Linked DNA regions of Homo sapiens: region 1 is linked to region 2. Evidence: promoter capture Hi-C in human tissues and cell types (Jung and others, 2019). All regions are on one chromosome and are shown on one strand. Each heading gives the region's core, a stretch centred on a gene start or on the middle of the fragment in contact. The rest is flanking DNA. Distances are from core to core; before and after follow the strand shown.

The links. Contacts are between HindIII fragments. The study calls those that stand out against the background at their distance.
Region 1: the fragment with the promoter of NUP98 here is called in contact with the fragment with the promoter of OSBPL5 in region 2 in 1 of the 25 tissues and cell types used here (mesendoderm cells).

Annotation. Positions count from the first base shown.
Region 1 is chr11:3,795,922-3,800,700 of GRCh38, reverse strand. It overlaps NUP98 (nucleoporin 98 and 96 precursor), which reads left to right and starts at 3,147. Exons shown (of 33, transcript NM_016320.5): 1 at 3,147-3,301. It also overlaps a transcript of PGAP2 not described here. RefSeq lists silencers at 3,131-3,300, 3,381-3,470. The HindIII fragment of the contact is 8,862 bases long and covers 1-4,554 here.
Region 2 is chr11:3,164,045-3,169,028 of GRCh38, reverse strand. It overlaps OSBPL5 (oxysterol binding protein like 5), which reads left to right and starts at 3,719. Exons shown (of 22, transcript NM_020896.4): 1 at 3,719-3,813. RefSeq lists enhancers at 2,525-3,237, 4,981-4,984. The HindIII fragment of the contact is 28,319 bases long and covers 1-4,984 here.

The sequences.
Region 1 (4,779 bases), core at 1,898-4,397, 630 kb before region 2:
AGCTGGGACTACAGGTATGTGCCACCACGCCCGGCTAATTTTTTTGTATTTTCAGTAGAGATGGGGTTTCCTTCTGTTAGCCAGGCTGGTCTCGATCTCCTGACCTCGTGATCCGCCCACCTCGGCCTCCCAAAGTGCTGGGATTACAGGCGTGAGCCATCCCGCCTGGCCCAAATTTCTTAATTAAATTAAACTGAATTAAATTAAATTAATAAATAAATTTAAACTGAATTAAATTAAATCTGCATCCAAATTTAAACCAGGGTTCTCTGACTCAAAGTCCAACACCTCTACTAATCCCCCACTGAAGAAAATAATTCACTCATTCGTGCATCAAATATCTAATGTGTACCTACTATGTGCCCTGCCTTAGGGACACCAAAATAAGTCAGTAGAAGAGAGCCTTAAAAATAATTGGGCTTGGAGATTAAAGGGCAAGAAATCAAATGTTCCAGAGGGCAGTTATGAAGCTACTGTAACTATCTAGGGAGAGTTAATGACTTTCTAAAGTCCAGCAAAGGCAAGGGAGTGTGGTTGTAAAGTAGGGGTGTTTTGGATGGAGGAGTTGGGGGAAGATGGCTGCAGTCAGTTGTTTAAAGTAACTTTACTATTTGGCCAACCATATATTGATTTTCTTCTTCCTTCAAGTATCTACTGAGCACCTACAATGTACCGTGTTTCTTCCATCCACTATCTTATTCCATCTTTACAACCCACCACCTTTTTTTTCCCCCAGTCGGAGGCTCCGTCTGTTGCCCAGGCGGGAGTGGCATGACTGTAATCACAGCTCACTGTAGCTTTAACCTCTTGGGCTCAAACGATCCTCCTACTTCAGCCTCCCTAGTAGCTGGGACCACAGGCGCTTGCCACCACACCTGGCCTTGGTTAATTTTTTGTATAGGTGGGGACTCACTATGTTGCCCGAGCTGGTCTCGAACTCCTGGGTTCAAGTGATCCTCCTACCTTGAACTCCCCAGTGCTGGGATTACAGGCGTGAGCCACCACTCCCAGTCTCCCATTTTTTAAACAAACAAATAAATCAATTATCTCTAATCCCTTGCCATCACCGAAAACCCAGATGGCTTTAAACTCATTTACATTTTAGGTAAAAGCCCAGTTCAATTTTGCATTCATGTCTCACAAAGGAGTAGTGGTGGAGGTTTTTTAAAAATTTTTTTTGAGATCACTCTGGAGCGCAGTGGCAGGATCTCCACTCACTGTAATCTCCGCCTCCCTGGTTCAAGCCATTCTCGTGCCTCAGCAAACCGAGAAGCAGCTGGGATTATAGGTGCCCACCACCATGCTTGACCAATTTTTGTATTCTTAGTAGAGACAGGGTTTCATCATGTTGGCCAGGCTGGTCTCGAACTCCTGGCCTCAAATAATCTGCCCGCCTCAGCATCCCAAAGTGCTGGGATTACAGGCATGAGCCACCAGCCCGGCCAGTATACGCTTTGCTTTCTGCGCACAGTTCCTGCTATGAGACTCTCAGTCACTAAACAGGTCTAGTTTCTAGAAAATGCCCACCTTTCACTCTTGTAATATCAGTTTTCTGCTAATGGGCTAGGCCCCAGAAGGACTTCCAAGAAGAGCCCAAGGCACAGAAAACCGAGGGTAAATAATAGGATACAAAGTGACAAGGCTTTAACAGAGGCCTGCCCAAGCATTAGCTCAACTCGCTGTGAAAGCTTGGCAAATGTATCACTGAGAAGATGGGAACATTTGAAATACCCGTCCTTTAAGAATAAGTAGGGGTTCGGCTGGGCGCGGTGGCTCACGCCTGTAAGGCCAGCACTGTGGGAGGCCGAGGCGGGCGGATCACCTGAGTTCCGGAGTTCGAGACCAGCCTGGCCAACATGGTGAAACCCCATCTCTACTAAAAATACAAAATCAGCTGGGCGCGGCGGCGAGTGCCTGTAATCCCAGCTACTCGGGAGGCTACGACAGGAGACTCTCTTGTACCTGGGAGGCGGAGATTGCAGTGAGCCGAGATCGTGCCACTGCACTCCAGCCTGGGAGAAAGAGGAGACAGAGCAAGACTCCATCTCAAAAAAAAAAAAAAAAATTAGTTCATGGGCGAGGTGGCTCACGTCTGTAATCCCAGCACTTTGGGAGGCCGAGGCGGGTGGATCACTTGAGATCAGGAGTTCGAGACCAGCCTGACCAACACAGTGAAATCCCCGTCTCTACTATAAATACAAAAATTAGCTGGGCCTGGTGGCGGACGCCTGTAATCCCAGCTACTTGGGAGGCTAAGGCGGGAGAATCGCTTGAACCCGGGAGGCAGAGGTTGCAGTGAGCCGAGATTGCGCCAATGCACTCCACCCTAGGCGACAACGCGAGACTTCATCTCAAAAGAAAAAGAAAAAAAAAGAATTAGGGGTTCTCCACGTGCAGCTGGGAAAGACGTTCCAACAATCCTCATTTGTACCAGGCCCTTTGGTGGGCCAGTCCCTTAGGGCATCTCTAATGCTCCTAATGTCCATCCTAGAAATTCAGGGAGGGAAAGAAAGTGCTGGGGCGAGCATGGGTCAGGAGAGAATAGGGTCAGGATTTAGGGCCCTGAAGAAGCCTCGGGCAAACTCTTTGGACAGACAGACCTTCCAAGAGGGCCCTCAGGCTCCGCACGTGGTCTGGGCGGGAAGTGCGGGCAGAGAGACTAGGAAGCCTTCCCAGCAGCGCCGGCGGACCGGGGCAAGGAAAGGGTCGAATAGTTACCATGCCATTCTGGGGCCGTCCCTCTGATTGGCCCGAGCTCCCTCAGCCCGAGTCGCGGCGCTCCAAGGAAGGGGGCGGAGTCTCTATGTTGCGTCACCACCCTTCCCGACACCCCGCCGGTGCTTCCCAATCTAGCCATTCACAAGCCCACTTCGAGAGGCCCTGTGTGACGTCACGACACGCTCCCGCCAACCGCGGCGGCGAGGGGCGGGACTCCACGGCCCTCTCACCGCTCCTACCCTGTGCCTCCCCGAACTCCTTCTGCCCCTCCTCTTCCCTCTCGCCCCTTCCCCCTTCAGTTCGGTTTCAAAAGACGCGTTGCCCAATGAATAACAGGGTCGACCCAGAGTGGCGGCCGCGTCCACCAATTCGCGGACGGCGAGGGCGGAGCGTCCGCAACGAGCCTCTGACGCCGGGCGGCGTGTGACGCAGTCGGGCCCTCTGCGCGCTGCGCCCGAAGCGGCGGTCGGTGGCAGGGGTGGTAGCGGCGGCGGCGACGGTTTCGTGGGGGCCGCGCGCTGCTCTGTGAGCGGCGGGTGGCAGCAGGGGACTCCTGACACTTCCCCTTCCCCACCGAACCGCGGTAAGTCGGGAGCCCGAGCTGCAGCGGCCGAGACCGGCAGGTTTCTCCCCCCTTCCGGGCGGGCGGACGCGCGGGGCGTCTCAGGGCCTCTCCGCTTCGAAGTCTAGCGCCGCTGCGCGCACCTTCTGGCCTGAGAGAGGGGCGGTGCTGAGGACCCGGGGGCCCGGAGCCCGGGAGGCCCGGCTTTGGAGGCCCTGGGAGAGAATGGACATCAGTGGGGTCTAGGCCTGGAGGTCTCCAGTTGCTGCCCACGCGAGTGGGTGTCTGTCTGGTTGTACTCATTCATTCAGTGGTGTAAGGACCCCACGGTGGGCTGGCCTTTCCGGGGTCAGCGCCTTGAAACCCTGAATACGGTCTGCCCCGCACTTCCTTGACCGTCATGTGGGACTGGGCTTTATTTGCCTTGGCTTCTCCATAAGGGAAGTGGGCACCCCGAGGATTAGGGTGAGTCCGAAGTTTGGGAGATTTTTAAGATAATATCTGAGAATAGGAGTCGGTTCGGTGGAGCAAAAGGTTCTTTTCTATTTTCCCACGTGTTCAGTGTAAAGCCAGATGAGGAGACAGATTGAGTTTCTGGATTACTATAGCCATAAGGACTTTAGAAATTGTTTAAGTCAATCCCCCTACCTTACATCAGTTTTGTAGATGGGGAAACCGAGGCCCGGAGTAACAGGCAGGATTAGCCAATGCCAGATTTTTGACAGTCTAAACAGTTTTCTACTACCTCACCCTCCCTGGATATTTCAGTCTCCCATTATTAAGAATTCCCTTTAGGAGGTCGGTGCGGCATGGACATTAGGTAGCTAAACGTAGATGTAGTCTTCACAGCGTTTTCCGTTTAGTTGCTACCAGCTCTGTTCACGGGTAAGGTGGAAGCTTCGTTAGTGGTACCCTAACCTAGAGCTTGAGAACTAAACTTAGAAGATGGTTAAAGAACGTCAGCGTTGTTATGTATCGGAAACAAATCGGTAAAACTACAAGCCATTGTTTCCCTTTCTAAATCTGAATTTTTTGACTTGTGTCAGCTGATGAGGACTCGGAGTCAGTTAGGGATTTATAACAGTACTGGAATAGAAAGCAGGAAATATTGATAAGACTTAGAAAGCCAGGTAGGAGTCCGTTTGTAGTAGTTGTACCTCGGAACTCATGGCTCCTTTCAGGTACAGAATTCAAAGTGAAGTATTATAGTAGAATAAGGTGAGGAAATAAAACTCCGTTTTGGAGGAAGAAGCTAACTGGAATAAAGAGCAAAAAGAGAGCAGTGATCATTCCCTGTGACGGTCTTACAAATTCGAAAAGAAACTCGAGTTAACTGGGTTACAGTATGTTTACCTGGTGGAGGAAGTTAGGGTATTTAAAAACCAAAACTAGAGGTTGGACAGGATAAAGGTACTGGGAAATACTTGGGTAAAATTATTCTTTTTGACTCTTCAGATTTGATGAAATTGAATTAGTTGACACTTGGTTCTGTACACATC
Region 2 (4,984 bases), core at 2,470-4,969:
TTCCTCATCTGTCTAATGGAGAGAAGTGGTTATTGCTACCTCAGAAGACTGAAAAGGGCCGGGCGCGGTGGCTCATGCCCGTAATCCCAGCACTTTGGGAGTCCGAGGAGGGTCGATCACAAGGTCAGGAGTTCAAGACCAGCCTGGCCAAGATGGTGAAACCCCATCTCTACAAAAAATACAAAAAGTAGCCGGGTGTGGTGGCGGGCACCTGTAATCTCAGCTACTCAGGAGCCTGAGGCAGGAGAATCGCTTGAACTTGGAGAGCGGAGGTTGCAGTGAGCCGAGGTTGTGCCACTGCACTCCATCCTGAGCGACAGAGTGAGACTCCGTCTCAAAAAAAAAAAAAAAAAAAAAAAAAAAAAGGCTGTAAAGGACCAAAGGAGATAACCGATGACAGTTTGCCGGCCCTGACCTGCTTAAGGTCTCTCCCTAGGGGGCCACACCCAGCCCCACTGGCTCCTGTAGTGGCTGAAGCCCTGAGCAAGGCTTCCCCGGTTGGTGGCACCTTCTCTGGATTGGGCCCAGCGCTGTTCCCACATGTCCTGGCCACCCCAGCCCTTCCCAGGGAGGCAGCCAGATGTAGCAGAAGGGGCAGGGGCTTTTGCGGGGGGGTTTCCTCTGAGCCGGTGGGTCTTCATTATGAACCAGGTGGCAGAGCACGGCAGATCAGAGCACAGTTCTGGAGCCAGAGAGGTTGGTGACTGCCTCGCCTGCTGTGCCTCAGCTTCCCCATCTGTGAAATGGAGCCAATCACGACAGAACCAGCTCATAAAGTTGTGAGGCAGATTAAATGCACCAAGTGTCTAAAGCCCTCAGAAAAGGGTCTGACACGAGAAAGGTGCCCACAGCCATCTTATTCACCCCTCAGTCGGGGTCAGGAGAAGTAGATGAGATGCAAAGAACCTGGGACAGGGTAGGGGCTCCATCAGCAGGAGGCCTTGGGGGCTTAGACCAACCACCCGAAACCAAGGAGTGATGCCAGCAGGTGGACATGTATTCACTTCTGGGGCAGGGATTCTTGACCTCAGCATGACCAGCATTTGGGGCCGGGTCACCCTTTGTGGTGGAGGCTGTCCCGTGCATGACAACGTGTTTAGCAACATCCTCGGCCTCTACCCACTAGACACCAGTAGCAACCTCCAATGACGACGGCCAGAACTATCTCCAGGCAGTGGCAAATGCCACCTGGAAACTGGAGGCAAAACCGCCCCTAGCAGAGAACTGCCATTCTGGAGACTTGGATTGGAACTGCCCTGATTTTAAATTGCACTGTCCTTGCAAAGCATTTTTTAAGTTCTTACTTATCACAGACATATTTTTCTGAATTACCATAAATTCCAAACTAACCAGCTGGGCGCTGCAAGCCGTTCCTTCCCATAGTCCACTCATGGTCCCCAGTGCCCACCAACAGCCAGCGCTTGCAAAGTCTGTTGGCCCACTGGGGACTTATGGCAGCTCATGCAGCGGAAACTGCTCTGGTCATCGCCATTTATAGATGAGGAAACTGAGGCACGGCCAGTTGCACAAACCTGCTCAAGGGCTCCTGGATGGTGGGGCCTACTGGGCGTGCCCCCCTAAAGCTGGTGCCATTGGCACCTGGCTCTGCCCATCTCTGAGACCTCTGACGCCTTCATTTCCTGCGTTGGCCACCAGGCACAGATGCTGTGTCCATCTGACAGGAGAGGAAGCGGGGTCCCAGGAGGAACAAGCCACTGCCTGGTGACAGAGCTTCTTTCTGGCAGCAGCAGGATTCGGACCTACCTCTTGCTGGGGGCAACCTCTTCGGCTCACTGCCTCTCCAAAACCAGGCAAGAGGCTGGAAATGGGGCTTTCTGGAAAAATGCAGAGCCTGCTGGGAAGTGGGGCAGACAACTGACACCTGTCACTGAGCCTGGCAGGTGGCGTGTTCTTCATTTCTTGCATGGCCATCTGGCTGTCAGACACTACCCAGTGAGAGGCTCAACCCTCGTCCTGCTCCACCCCAGCCCCACCCTGCTGTCATCTATGGCCCCTTCCCCCACCCTCAGGTGCCTCTTTGACTTTTGACCTCTGCCCTCAGCAGTGTCATTTCATGAAACCCAGGCCCTGGACAGCCAGCATCAAGCAACTGGCAACCTTCCCTACTGCCGCCCCTGAGACCTCCGCCCTAGGGATAGGGGCTTTGTTTTCTTCCCTAATTCCCTTTGGATTGGCTCCAGCAACCAGCAAGTTACCAGGCAGCAGCACCTCAGCTTTGGGCGGAGTCTTCAAAGAGCAGACCCAGCAGTTGTATGTGGATCCCAGCTGCACAGACCCTCTCCTGCAGAGGCAGAGGCCGCCTGCCACAGGCCACGCGGAGCAGGGTCCCACCATGGCCCTGAGCATCTTGACTGAGCAGTTCTGCATCCCAAGGCCTCACAAGGTGACTATGGAATGGCAATGCTAGCCCTGGGGGTAAGCTTAGGGCAAGTCCGATCAGCCCACTCGCCTCCGTAAGCCGTGGGTTCCTGTGATCCGCACACAAGCGGCTGGTGCTGCTATCCCCAGGAGGATACCCACCAACTTGTCTAACGGGGTGGGCAAGGCCAGGGCTGAGACGGGAAGGGGTCTGGCTTGTTGTGGGCAGAGCACCTGCATGCTGTGCCGTTCCCCCTTCAGGTGCTGGAAGGAGCCTTCCTGGGCCGCTCGCCCTCCGCAGCCCTGCTGGGAGGTCTTGCAGACGCCCATGATAGCCAGGCTTGCGGCCTCCCGAATGCAACTGCAGCGTGAAACCGTAGAAACACACGTGTCAGTGGCAGTTCTGCCTGGGGAGGAGCCCAGGGCTCTCTGCGGAGGGTCAGTTCTGTCCCTGTTAAGGTTCTGTGTGGAAAAGACTCCACGCCCTCTTGGGGTCTACCTACATCTGGGGATGCCCGAGCCCAGCTCCCAGTTTTTCTGGTCATTTGGGGACATACCATAGGAAGGACCTGCAGTGCACCTCAGGCTTGGACACTAGGGATGCAAACGCCCTGGGGCCAGCCCTGGGCCCACACCCAATTTAGGGTCTACAGGCAGGGAGCCAGGGGCCAGGGGAGGACTTCTCAGCTCCCAAGGGGATGCTGTTTAGGGGAATTAGAATGTCTTTTATATACAAGAGAACTGAGGGGTCTAAAAAGGTCTCTGGGGGGTAGAAGAAGGTGAGGAGAAAACACAGGAAGAAATGCACATGAGGGGAGGTTCTTGTCAAAAGGGTCCTGAGAAAGACGTACAGTTAGAGTGTGACTGAGGGTCCTTCTTAGCACATAAGGGGCAGGGACAACGGGCTCAGATGTCTGGGGCTCCTCTTGTGTTCTGATGGCTCCTGAGACGGGGAGAAACGGCGACAGTTTCCTGGGTTCAGGAAGGGAGAGGAGGCGCCTCGCACCCTGGCTAGGGTGGGCTGGGGGCCTGCACCCCTAAGTTGGAGAACCCCACGAAGCTGACCCCACTCACCGCTGCCCACCCCGCCAAGCCTCCTGGCCATTTTCAGCGGAGTGTCCCGACCTCTGGCCGCCCGGGTGGGTGTGAGCCCCGGAGCGCGCGCGGGGGGTTGGGGGATGAGGAGAAGCGGCAGCCGGTGGGGGGCAGCCCCTGGGCGCCCGCTCCGCGCGGCGATTCGGCCCGGGTTTTGCGGCCGCCGCGCCTCCTCCTCCCGCCTCCGGGCTCCCTGGGCCTCCTCCCTCCGCCGCGCCCTCGCTCCGCCTCGCGCGGGGGGACCATCTGCTGGCATTTCCTGCAGCCAGGCCCGCGCCGCCAGTGGAGCCCCCGCGCGCCCGGCCGGCCCGGAGCACCGAGCTCGCGGCACGGTAGGAGGTAGGAGCGCGGCGGCCCGGGGGGCGGCAGGGCGGCGGGGGGATGGCGGGCTGGGAAGGATCCGGAGGGCCCCGCCGGGCAGGGCCGGAGCGAACCGAGGGCCGCGGGGGGCCGGCCGAAGGGATCCAGGAGCTCGCGCCGCAGCCCCGCGGACCCTGGCAGTAGCCAGTGCGGGGAACCACGCCGCGGGGCCGGTCGCGCGCTGGGGAGCTGGGGAGCGCGGGAGCCTGGGGGCGCCCCGGGCCAGGACGGGTCGGCGCCTGGCGGGTTGGGGCGGGTGGGGCCCGCGAGTGGGAAGCGGCGCGCCCAGCTCGGCTCCCCACTTGGTGGGGCTTAAAGGAGCCGGGACCGCCAGGGAAGGTGGCTGGGTCTGACCACCACAAACCCTGGCCAATCAGGGGGTCTGTCCCCCCAGCTCGGCCGACGCGGGCTCCAAGGAGCCAGGTCTTGATGGGTCTGCAGGGGGTCTGGGATCTGAGTCTGGCGTCCCAGCTGCGGGCTTGGGAGGACTGCTGTGTCTGAGTCCGCAGAGTCAGGGGGCTGCCTGGATTACAGGCTAGGGAAGGACCTTGCCCACAGCCCCCATCTCTGGGGCACTGACCCCCTGAAGATGTGGAGCCTTAGGGATTGTTGAGGTGCCTGAGTCCTCAAGAGGGTCTTGTGCACTTGAAGATTCCTCCCGGGGAGCGGGGTGCAGGAGGGTGGGGCAGGCAGGAAGGAGGCTGGAGTCTGCAGCCCCCCGGGCAACAGGCCCGTCCTGGGCTTCCCAGGCACCGCCCCCAACCCCCACCCAGACCGCTGGGCTGCCTCCTGTCAGAAGCCAACTGGAGTTAGGGTTTGGGGTGACTCCTGGGGGTATGGAGGGGTCACAGGGTGGGCTTACCTGCCCCTCCCTCGTCCCTGGGCTGAGCCCAGCCCCTCCCTCATCCTTGGGCTGAGCGGGTCTGCCCCGCCGAAGCGGCTGGGTGGATTTCCTCTCTTGCCGTTTCGCAACTTGCTCCCCTCTGTGTGTCTGCCCCAGTCTCTTCAAGGTGCCTTTTACAGGAAGACTTCTGTAAGGGTCCCACCCCACCTGATACAGCCTCCCAAAGCCTGGAGAAGTGGGCCAGCCTTTGGGATCCTAGATAGATGCTCTTGGGTCTGCCTGCACCAGGGCTGATCCAGATCCCAG